Linked DNA regions of Homo sapiens: region 1 is linked to region 2. Evidence: promoter capture Hi-C in human tissues and cell types (Jung and others, 2019). All regions are on one chromosome and are shown on one strand. Each heading gives the region's core, a stretch centred on a gene start or on the middle of the fragment in contact. The rest is flanking DNA. Distances are from core to core; before and after follow the strand shown. Region 1 has its middle 18 kb from the start of LNCPRESS1. Region 2 holds the start of MUC17 (mucin 17, cell surface associated).

What was found. The method cuts DNA at HindIII sites, captures the fragments that hold promoters and counts their contacts. A contact is called where the count stands out against the background at its distance.
Region 1: a contact is called between a fragment that was not itself captured here and the fragment with the promoter of MUC17 in region 2, in 4 of the 25 tissues and cell types used here (IMR-90 fibroblasts, bladder, heart left ventricle and 1 more).

Annotation. Positions count from the first base shown.
Region 1 is chr7:101,278,387-101,283,968 of GRCh38, forward strand. No RefSeq gene overlaps it. Among named protein-coding and RNA genes, the nearest start is that of LNCPRESS1, 18 kb to the right of the region's middle. The HindIII fragment of the contact is 6,351 bases long and covers 1-4,784 here.
Region 2 is chr7:101,018,052-101,023,932 of GRCh38, forward strand. MUC17 (mucin 17, cell surface associated) reads left to right here and starts at 2,030. Exons shown (of 13, transcript NM_001040105.2): 1 at 2,030-2,166. The coding sequence starts at 2,085. It overlaps MUC12 (mucin 12, cell surface associated), which reads left to right. Exons shown (of 12, transcript NM_001164462.2): 12 at 544-885. The coding sequence ends at 585. RefSeq lists a silencer at 437-731 and an enhancer at 781-930. The HindIII fragment of the contact is 20,706 bases long and covers 1-5,881 here.

The DNA.
Region 1 (5,582 bases), core at 359-2,858, 260 kb after region 2:
CTACTGGCCCGATACACATGGCAAAATATTTGGTCAGGATTCTGGAAGAATATCAAAGAATTCACAGGGCAGAGGAAAGCTTTGAATATTATGAATGAGGGAAAATTTCCATTCATCTCATAATTCATACTAGAGAGACTCCCAATGAATGGCACCAGCGGAGGAAAATCCTCAGACGGAGGCAAGCAGTTATCGGAGATGCGAAAATCACAGGGGAGGACGTGGCACAGAATAGCGTGGAACCCACGTCACAGCTTGCGCCCAAGAGCATCACACGGGAGAGAACCTGCGTCCTCAATGAACGGCGTTCCAAAAAAGCACAACCGCACCAAGCATCAGATAAGCCATTCTGAGCTCAGTCTTTGGAATGTAATGAATTGGGGGTGGTGATCATTTGAGAAGAAATCAGCCCTTATTCATCAGCTGATGATTCCCACTGGAGAGAGGGCGGGTGCTCGTCACGGATGACGAAGCTCTGGGGGTGCTCCGATCACATATAACACAAGAGGCTGCAGAGGGGACCCAAGGGGGGCTGTCAGGGGGCCTCAGGGTACACGTGACATAAAACGGTTACAAGAGGAAAACATGATGAAAAGGGCAAATTTAGAAAGTGATTTCAGGCTGGGCACTGTGGCTCGCACCTGTAATCCCAGAACTTTGGGAGGCTGAGGTGCGGCGGGGCAGGGGAATCACTTGAGGCCAGGAGTTCAAGACAAGCCTGGGCAACATAGCAAGACCCCATCTCTACCAAAAATCAAACATAAATCAATAAAACATTTTTAAAAGCTTTTCTTTTTTGGAACTTGTCCTGTTAGCACCAGCAATGGCTGTGGGGAATGCAGACACCCTTTGGGGGAGTTTGCTCAGATGACACAGTCGTGCACATGTGATCCTTGGGGCAACTCACAGGGGTGCCCTAATGCCATGTACAAGAATCCAGGCCCAGGCCAGGCGCCGTGGCTCACGCCTGTAATCCAGCATTTTGGGAGGCTGAGGCGGGCAGATCACCTGAGGCCAGGTGTTCCAGACCAGCCTGGCCAACATGTTGAAACCCCGTCTCTACTAAAAATACAAAAATTAGCCATGCATGGTGGTGTGTGCCTGTAGTCCCAGATACTTGGGAGGCTGAAGCAGGAGAATCACTTGAACCCAGGAGGCAGAGGCGGAGGTTGCAGTGAGCCGAGATCACACCACTGCACTCCAGCCTGGGTGACAGAGTGAGAATCTGTCTCAAAAAAAAAAAAAAAGAGGCTCGTGGCCTCTGGGGAACACGCCCCATGAGAAACTGTGGTGGTGGCTGCTTCGTTCATTCCTTCATTCTTTTCATATCTTTGGAGCATCTGTTCTGTGCCTGGCACTACTCTGTGGGGGGATAGAGGACAGGGCAACCTTGGGGGTCAGAGGAGGGTCAGGGAAGTAGCAGCTGCTATTTCAGATTACAGGTGTGTGTGTGTCCCAAGGTTCCAGAGGGGAGGGAGCTTAGGTGGGGGCTCTGGGAAAGAGGGAGGAAGACCCTGATCTAATGACTGCCTACCACGTGTCAGGCTGGCAGGCGATGTCTCACAGCAACCCTGCAAGCTTGGTCCTGTTTTCTGCACTTTGCAAATGGAGAAAATAAGGCACATGTACAGCTGGTAAGTGGTAGAGTCGGTACTGAGACTGGGTTGGCCTCACTCCAAATCCCATTTCTCTTATTTATTTATTTATTTTTAATTTTTATTTTTTTCTGAGATGGAGTCTTGCTCTGTCACCCAGGCTGGAGTGCAGTGGCGTGATCTTGGCTCACTGCAACCTCCGCCTCCTGGGTTGAAGGATTCTCCTGCCTCAGCCTCCCAAGTAGCTTGGCTTACAGGTGTGTGCCACCAAGCCTGGCTAATTTTTGTATTTTTAGTAGAGACGGGTTTCACCATATTGTCCAGGCTGGTCTCAAACTCCTGACCCTCATGATCCACCCGCTTCGGCCTCCCAAAGTGCTGGGATTACAGGCATGAGCCACTGTGCCTGGCCTCTTTTTTTTTTTTAATTTTTTAGAGACAGGGTCTCACTCTGTCACCCAGGCTGGAGTGCACTGGCGTGATCACGGCTCACTGCAGCTTCAACCTTCTGGGTTCAAGCTATCCTCCTGCCTCAGCTTCCCGAGCAGCTGGGATTACAGGCATGCACCACCACACCTGGCTAATCTTTGTTTTTTGTAGAGATGGGGGTCTTACTATGTTTCCCAGGCTGGCCTCAAACTCCTGGCCTCAAGCAATCCTCCTGCCTCAGCCTCCTAAAGTGTTAGGATTACAGGTGTGTGCCACCGTGCCTGGCCCAAATCCCATTTCTTTCCACCATCACAAGGAACAGAACTAGTCCTTCAGCAGCACTGTTCCCTGGGATGTGTCTGCAGAGGCTTGGGAGACAATGAGAGGCACCCAGTGAACAGGGAGGAAAGGGGGTGGAAGGACATGTACTGGCTTTTGCAGACCCTCCTCAGGGAACAGTGAACACATTCATTCCTTCATTCACACATTTAGTCAGTTTTTTGCAGCAACAGGATCTCGTTCTGTCAGCCTGGCTGGAGTACAGTGGCACAATCATAGCTCACTGCACCCTTGAGCTCCTGGGTTCAAGCGACTGTCCCACCCTTGGCCTCCTGAGTAGCTAGGACTACAGGCCACGCCACCACACTTAGCTAAGTTTTTAATATTTTGAAGAGATGGGGTCTCACTATGTTGCCCAGGCTGGTCTCAAACTTCTGGCCTCAAGCGATCCTCCCACCATGGCCTCCCAAAGTGCTGAGATTACAGGTGTGAGCCACTGTACCTGGCCATATTTAGTAAAATCCTTACTGAGCCCTATGGGGTGCCAAGCACAGCGTCGAGGTGCTGGGGATATGCATGCGTGAGGCTGACACGTGCTTACCCTCATGGGGCTTCCATCTGAGAAGGCAGGCAGGCACTCCAGCACGCTAAGTGGTGTGACAGGGGCTCATTGGGCCCCATGGAAGCTCAGAGAATGACATAACACAGACTCGCAGCGTGGAGGGAGACTTCTGGGAAGAGATAACTCCTTATGAAAGGCTGGGAAGGCCAGGTGGGGTGGCTCATGCCTGTAATCCCAGCACTTTGGAAGGCCGAGGCGGGCAGATCATGAGATCGAGATCGAGACAATCCTGGCCAACATGGTGAAACCCCGTCTTCACTAAAAATACAAAAATTAGCTGGGTGTGGTGGCGCACACCTGTAGTACCAGCTACTCAGGAGGCTGAGGCAGGAGAATCGCTTGAACCTGGGAGGCAGAGGTTGCAGTGAGCAGAGATTGTGCCACTCTGCCCTTCAGCCTGGGCCACAGAGTGAGACTCCATTTTTTTTAAGAGAAAAGAAAAGAAAAGAAAAAAGGAAAGAAGGAAGGAAGGAAGAAAGGAAGGAAGGAAGGAAGGAAGGAAGGAAGGAAGGAAGAAAGAAAGAAAGAAAGAAAGAAAGAAAGAAAGAAAGAAAGAAAGAAAGAAAGAGAAAGAAAGAAAGAAAGAAAATGCTGGGAAGAGCCTTCTGGAAAGGTGCATGCAGGAGGGTCTGCTGGTGGCAGAGCTGAGTGATCGCAAACGCAGCTGACATGAGCCCAGTGCTGTCTGGTAACAGTATGTGGGGTGGCGGGTGGCAAGGAAAAAGGCCGGAAGCGAGACCAGGGCATCCGGGGCCCAACAGGCCTTATAAGGAGTTCAGACTGGGTCCTAGGCAATGATGGGAAACCGGTGAAGGGTGTGAAGCTGGGGGTGATGACCCGTGAAGCCCGAGGCTGCAACACAAGGGGAGAGCTGTCCAAAGGTTCGCCAAATTCTGGCCGGGCGCGACGGCTCACGCCTGTAATCCCAGCACTTTGGGAGGTGGAGGCTGGTGTATCACCTGAGGTCAGGAGTTCGCGACCAGCCTGGCCAAGGTGGTGAAACCCCATCTCTACTAAAAATACAAAAATTAGTTGGGCATGGTGGCGCATGCCTGTAGTCCCAAATACTCGGGAAGCTGAGGCAGGAGAATCGCTTGAACCTGGGAGGCGGAGGTTGCAGTGAGCTGAGATCGCACCACTGCACTGCACTCCAGCCTGGCGACAGGGCGAGAATCTGTCTCCAAAACAAACAAACAAACAAAAAAACAATCAGCCAGGCATGGTGGTGGGTGCCTGTAATCCCAGCTACTTGGCTGAGGCACGAGAATCGCTTGAACCCAGGAGGCAGAGGTTGCAGTGAGGCGAGATTACACCATTGCACTCCAGCCTGGGCAACAGAGCAAGACTCCATCTCAAAACAAAAACAAAACAAAAAAACAAAAGAAAAAGCTGTACGCAGGAAGGTCTGTGGGTGGCAGAGGTGAGTGATCGTAATCGCAGCTGACATAAGCCCACTGCTGTCCAAAAACAGAGGCTGTGGGGTGGCAGGCGGCAGGGAAGGAGGCTGGAAGCTGGACCAGGGCATCCTGGGCCCGACAGGCCTTATGGGTCCTGGGCAATGATGGGATATTGGTGAAGAGTGTGAGGCTGGGGGCGATGGCCTGTGAAGCTGGAGGCTGCAACACAAGGGCAGAGCTGTCCAGAGATTTGCCAAATTCGGGCAGAACGATGCAAGAGTGAGCATGTGAGTTCTGTCTTTTTTCCCTCATGAACCAAGGTTTCCAAGAGGCGCACTGAGCAGTGAGCAGGAAAGCTAGGAGCGACTAAGGGTGATCCGAGTGGGAGCTGCCAGCACCAGGTGCCAGAGCTGCGGTTTCCAGCTTTGGGGCCAACGTTCTTAAGCACACATCCCCCTCTTGTGGTCGAGAGCGGTATTGCCGCTGAAGAGAAAGGCTAGAGACCTCCTCCAGGTTCTCATCCTGAAAACCCCAAGGTATAGGCCAGGGGCTGCATCTACGTTGTGAACCCCACGAGATTTCCCACTTCTTTTTAAGAAAGATCTGATTGCTGGGCGCGGTGGCTCATGCCTGAAATCCCAGCACTTTGGGAGGCCGAGGCGGGCGGATCACAAGGTCAGGAGATCGAGACCATCCTGGCTAACACGGTGAAACCCCGTTTTTACTAAAAATACAAAAAATTAGCCGGGCGTGGTGGCGGGCGCCTGTAGTCCCAGCTACTCGGGAGGCTGAGGCAGGAGAATGGCGTGTACCCGGGAGGCAGAGTTTGCAGCGAGCCGAGACTGCGCCACTGCACTGCAGCCTGGGCGACAGAGCGAGACTCCGTCTCAAAAAAAAAGAAAAAGAAAAATCTGTTTTAGGCCGGGTGCGGTGGCTCACGCCTGTAATCCCAGCACTTTGGGAGTCCGTGGCGGGCGGATCATTTGATGTCAAGAGTTCGAGAGCAGCCTGGCCAATATGGTGAAACCCCGTCTCTACTAAAAATACAAAAATTAGCCGGGTGTGGTGGCGGGCGCCTGTAATCCCAGCTACTCTAGAGGCTGAGGCAGGAGAATTGCTCGAACCCGGGAGGCAGAGGTTGCAGTGACCTGAGATCGCACCATTGCACTCCAGCCTCTCCATAGACTCCATCTCAAAAAAAAAAAAAAAAAAAAAAAAAAAAAAAAAATTCTGATTAATGGGGAAAATCTCCATGTATGT
Region 2 (5,881 bases), core at 780-3,279:
TTCCCTTCCCCCTGGGACTCCCTCCCTCCCCCTGGGACCCCTCCCTTCCCCCCTGGATTCCCTCCCTCCCCCTGGGACCCCTTCCCCTTCCCCCTGGGACTCCCTCCCCTCCCCCTGGGACCCCTTCCCTTCCCCCTGGGACTCCCTCCCTCCCCCTGGGACCCCTTCCCTTCCCCCGGGACTCCCTCCCTTCCCCCGGGACTCCCTCCTCCCCCAGGACTCCCTCCTCTCCTTAGGACTCCCTCCCTCTCCCTGGGACACTCTCCCTACCCCTGGGACTCCCTTCTCCCCCTAGGACTCCCTCCCTTCTCCTGGGACTCCCTCCTCCCCCAGGACTCCCTCCTCACCCTGGGGCCACCCCTTCCCCTGGGACTCCCCCCTCCCCCGCCACTCCCTCCTCTCCCTAGGACTCCCTCCCTCCCCCTGGGACTCCCTCCCTCCCCCTGGGGTTCCCTCCTCCCCGCCAGGGCTCCCTCTTCCTCCTGGGGCTCCCCCTTTCCCGGGTCTGCCCCTTGGCCTCACCTCTTCTCTCCCGTCCCCCAGCTCCACATCCAGAGGCCGGAGATGGTAGCATCCACTGTGTGAGCCAACGGGGGCCTCCCACCCTCATCTAGCTCTGTTCAGGAGAGCTGCAAACACAGAGCCCACCACAAGCCTCCGGGGCGGGTCAAGAGGAGACCGAAGTCAGGCCCTGAAGCCGGTCCTGCTCTGAGCTGACAGACTTGGCCAGTCCCCTGCCTGTGCTCCTGCTGGGGAAGGCTGGGGGCTGTAAGCCTCTCCATCCGGGAGCTTCCAGACTCCCAGAAGCCTCGGCACCCCTGTCTCCTCCTGGGTGGCTCCCCACTCTGGAATTTCCCTACCAATAAAAGCAAATCTGAAAGCTCAGAATGAGAAGTGAGAGGTTTCCTTCTCCTCCTTCTGCAGTTGGGGTCAGGTTAGGGGTCAGAGCCCTCCTGGGATGGGATTTCTCCCAGGACTGGCTGCTGAATGGGGCATGGAACGAATGCTCTGGGCCCCTTCCTGTGTCTTTGCAGGGAGCCCCCTCCCCGGCTCCAGTCAGGACAGGTCTAGGCCTGCCTCTGCTGAGGTCCCTGTGGCAGAAAAGCCTAATGTCAGGTTCTGGGGACAGGAGAGGACCTCAGATTCAACCCCAGTTGGCCAGGGAGTGAGCACTTGGCTCTGCTGAGCTTGCACAAGGCAGGGTCACTCCAGATGGCCATGGGAGCTGTGCTTACCTCGGAACCCACAGACCAAACCCAAGAACTCCCTGCCCAGGCATGGCCATGTCTTCAGGGCATACTCATAGGACAATAAGAAGGGTTATTTTATTTATTTATTTTTGCCGAGACAGAGTCTTGCTCTGTTGCCCAGGCTGGAGTACGGAGGCACGATCTTGGCTCTCTGCAACCTCCGCCTCCCAGGTTCAAGCGATTCTCCTGCCTCAGCCTCCTGAGTAGCTGGGATTACAGGCGCCCGCCACCAAGTCTGGCTGATTTTTGTATTTTTAGTAGAGATGGTGTTTCATCATGTTGGCCAGGTTGGTCTCAAACTCCTCATCTCAAGTGATCTTCCCGCGTCAGCCTCCCAAAGTGCTGGGATTACAGGTGTGAGCCACCATACCCGGCCAATAAGAAGGGTTAGAAAAGAGACAAAGGGGGTGTCCCTGCTAGGGGTTAGGGTCAAATGCAGGTGGTACCCTCCTCCTTTCCCAGCTCAGGCCCAGTCCCTCTTGCCCATCTCCCACCACCCTCGGTCGGGGGATCTCATCAGTTCCCCCCTGGCTCCTACAGGCCCTCTGGGCTGCCCCTCTGTTGGGGTGATAAAGCTGATAACCCTCATGCCTATGGGCTGCCGGGCCAGGGAGAGGCACCCCCTCCCTCTGCCCTTTGGCCTGAAACAGGCCCTGCGCCCCAAGTCATGAGGGAAGCTTCCAGACTGACTCAGGCTCAGGCTGGCCCCTGATCCCCAGTGTCTCAGGGACCAAAGGTCTCTGGCACCCATTTATTTATCAGTTTCCTTCTCTGAGGCTCATTTCGCCAGCTCCTCTGGGGGTGACAGGCAAGTGAGACGTGCTCAGAGCTCCGATGCCAAGGCCAGGGACCATGGCGCTGTGTCTGCTGACCTTGGTCCTCTCGCTCTTGCCCCCACAAGCTGCTGCAGAACAGGGTGAGTGACCCCCACGCCCCGCTGCCCAAGAGGCCCCCATCCCAGGGGCCAGCCTGCTCTGTCTGCCCATCCCCGAGGGAGAGCTGCCTCCAGGACACCAATAGGGGTGTGCCCTCTGCCTGGAGCTCAGCCCTGTGCCTACCCCCTGGACTTCTCTTCTCTCCCCAGCGAGCTTTGGGGGAAGAGCCAGGGCATTGGAGCCTCTTCCAGTTGAGGTCTCTGAGCCTTAGTTTCCCCTTCCGAGCCTCAGTCTCCCCTCCGGAAAGTAAGAATAATAACACCTGCTTTTCAGGGCAGCTGCTAGGATTGAAAAGAGCTCCCCCCCCGAGGCATGATCCCTGGCACAAGACTGGTGTTCAACCCATATTAGAGTCTATCCTTACCCAGTGAATGTTCCCGCCAAGTCCCTGTCACCTCCCACACCAGCACACCCTGCTGTGTGCCCCAGGAATGTTTCCGGGACATAGCCACATGGGCACAAAATGGCGTTTCAGGAGCCCCAGATTCTAATCCTGCCATGAACCAGCTGTGCACCCTGGGGCCGCTCAGTTCATCTCCTGCCTCAGTCTCCCCAAAAGACAAGGCATTAGGACCTCTGAGGATCATTCCAGCTCAGCCGCTTTGGGCTTCATGGCCACAGGGACCCCGGGGGGCTCAGAGCAGGAGGGATGACAGTGGGTTCCAGCTGGACTCTCTGGGAGCTCCCTCTGCCCCTCACCTGCCCCCAGAGAAGGGCGCAGGGGAACCAAGACAGAAACTGGACCCATAGACCTCAGGGTCCCTGCCCCTCGAGATGTCACCCTGTGGCAATCTCACCCAGATCTGCCAGCCCATTCGTTGTAATGAAAACACTCCTTTCCTTGCACTTTCTGTGCCTTCCAGACCCTTGGTGATGTATCTCTAATAACAGCATCTTAGACATGATCTTTTGTTTTCCTCCCCAACCCTCACCTCTGTCTCCTCCTTTTTTTTTTTTTTTTTTTTTTGAGACGGAGCCTCGCTCTGTCACCCAGGCTGGAGTTCTGTAGCGTGATGTCAGCCCACTGCAACCTCTGCCTCCCGGGTTCAAGCGATTCTCCCGCCTCAGGCTCTTGAGTAGCTGGGATTACAGCCACATGCCACCATGCCCAGCTAGATTTTGTATATTTTTAGTAAGGACAGGGTTTCACCATGTTAACCGGGCTGGTCTCAAACTCCTGATCTCAGGTAGTCCTCCCACCTTGGGCTCCCAAAGTGCTGGGATTACAGGGGTGAGCCACCGCTCCTGGCCCCCTCCTTTCTTTCTCTCTGCTCCTCCCTTCCCTCTTCCTGGGTTCTTCTAGCCCCTTCCTTCCCCCTCTCTTCTCTTTCTTCTTCTCCCCACCTCTCCTTGGCCCCTTCCTGGCCTCTCCCCACTTTCTGCGTGTTATCATTGATTTCATCCCTAGCCTCAGTCTGCCTTTGTAGAATGTGACTTCTCAGACCCTGTTCCTACTCTCCAGGATTCTGTGGCTCCTCCGTCTCTGTGCCTGGCATTGGCTGTCCTTTGGGACCCTGGCCAGCTTTGGGCAGCCTCTGACCCTTTCCATGTCCCTTCTCCAGGGACCCAGAGCCTCACCCCTGCTGAAGTCATGGGGCTGGGGATACCAGGGCAGGGCGTGGGTCTAGAGAGAGAGCTGCAGTGGCCTCAGCCTGGTCCTTCCCAGCAGACACACCCTCTCATCCTGCAGATCACCTGGTTATATTGCTTGTCAACAAAACACAATGTCCTGTCTGTTTGCCCAGCCCGGCCCTGCCATCACAGATGCCCTCTCATCCCTACACCCAGCATGAGGGCCACCAAGGCTTGGGTGCTCAGTCACCTGTCCATGGCAGGTATCCCTTTGCCCTCCCCCCATCCCTGTCTAGGGCTCTGTCCCCATCTAGCACTTCCATCACCATCCCACTCTTGTCCTCCTCCCGAGAGATTTTTTTTTTTTTTTTTTTTTGAGGAGGAGTCTCAGTCTATCTCCCAGGCTGGAGTGCGGTGGCGCCATCTCAGCTCACTGCAACCTCCACCTCCCAGGTTCAAGCAATTCTCCTGCCTCAGCCTCCCGAGTAGCTGGGATTACGGATGCACGCTACTGTACCCAGCTAATTTGTGTATTTTTAGTAGAGACGGGGTTTCGCCATGTTGGCGAGGGTGGTCTTGAACTCGGAATCTCAGGTGATCCACCTGCCTCTGCTTCCCAAAGTGCTGGGATTACAGGCGTGAGCCACTGCACCCAGTACCCTCCTGAGAGATTCTAAGGAAACTTCAAATGTCTACCCCAGCTCCCTACTCCCATCAACAAGGCTCTCCTCCCAGGCCAGGTGCAGTGGCTCATGCCTATAATCCAGGCATATTGGGAGGCCAAGTTGGAAGGATCACTTGAGCCTAGGAGTTTGAGACCATCCTGGGCAACATAGCAAGACCCCATCTCTACAATAAATTAGCTGGAAATGGTGGTACACGCCTGTGTCCCACCTACCTGGGAGGCTGAGGTGGGAGGACTGCTTGAGCCTGGGAGGTCGAGGCTGCAGTGAGCTGTGATTGCACTACTGCACTCCAGCCTGGATGACAGAGTGAGACCCTGTCTCTAAAAAAAAAATCAAAAACACCCACCTCCTCCAGGGAGCCTTCCAGGAATCTGCACTAACTCTCCTTGCCTCAAACCCACCCCTGCAACCACAGGGGACCAGAAAAAACTGTAGTTTTTGCTCCCTGGGGCTGTCATTATAAAGCACAGCAATCTCCGTGCCTTACAATAACAGAAATGGATTGCCTTGCTGTCCTGGAGGCCAGAATCTAAAACCGAGGTGTCACAGGGCCATGATCCCTCTGAAGTCGCCAGGGAAGGGTCTGTCCCAGGCCTGTTTCCTGGTTGCGGGTGGTTGGTGGCAATCTCTGGCGTTCCTGGGCTGGTAGACGCTTTGCCTCCATCTTTACTTCATCTCGCTGTGGGTGTGTCTGTCTCTGTGTTGGGTTAGGACCCATGCTAGTGACCTCAGTTTAACTCGATCCCCTGCAAAAACCCTATCTCCAAATAAGGCCAACTTCTGGGGCACTGGGGATTAGGGTTCAGTTCAGCTCACAACAGAAAGGAATGAGGGGAGACCCTGCCGGGGTGGGGCATGAGGAGCAGACCTTTCAAAATTAAAAAGAAATATTTTTGGTTTTTATATTTTTTTAAGACATGGTCTCACTCTGTCCCAGGCTGGAGTGCAGTGACACTATCTCAGCTCATTGCAACCTCTGCCTCCCAGGTTCAAGTGATTCTCCTGCCTCAGCCTCCTGAGTAGCTGGGATTACAGGCGCCCACCACCTGTAATGCTGGCTAAATTATGCCTGGCTAATTTTTGTATTTTCAGTAGAGACGGGGGTTTCGCCATGTTGACCAGGCTGGTCTCGAACTCCTGACCTCAACTGATTTGTCCACCTCAGCCTCCCAAAGTGTGGGGATTACAGGCATGAGCCACTGCCCCTGGCTGATACAGTGACTTGTTTTCTTTTCATTAGATACCCAGTAGTGGGATTGCAGGATCAAATGGCAGATTTACTTTGAGTTCTCTGAGAAATCTCCATACTGTTTTCTATAGAGGTTGTACTGATTTACTTCCTGTCAGCAATGTATAAGCATTCCCTTTTTACCACATCCATGCCAACATCTATTTGCAGTTTTTTTTTTTGGCTTTTTAATAACGATCACTGTGACTG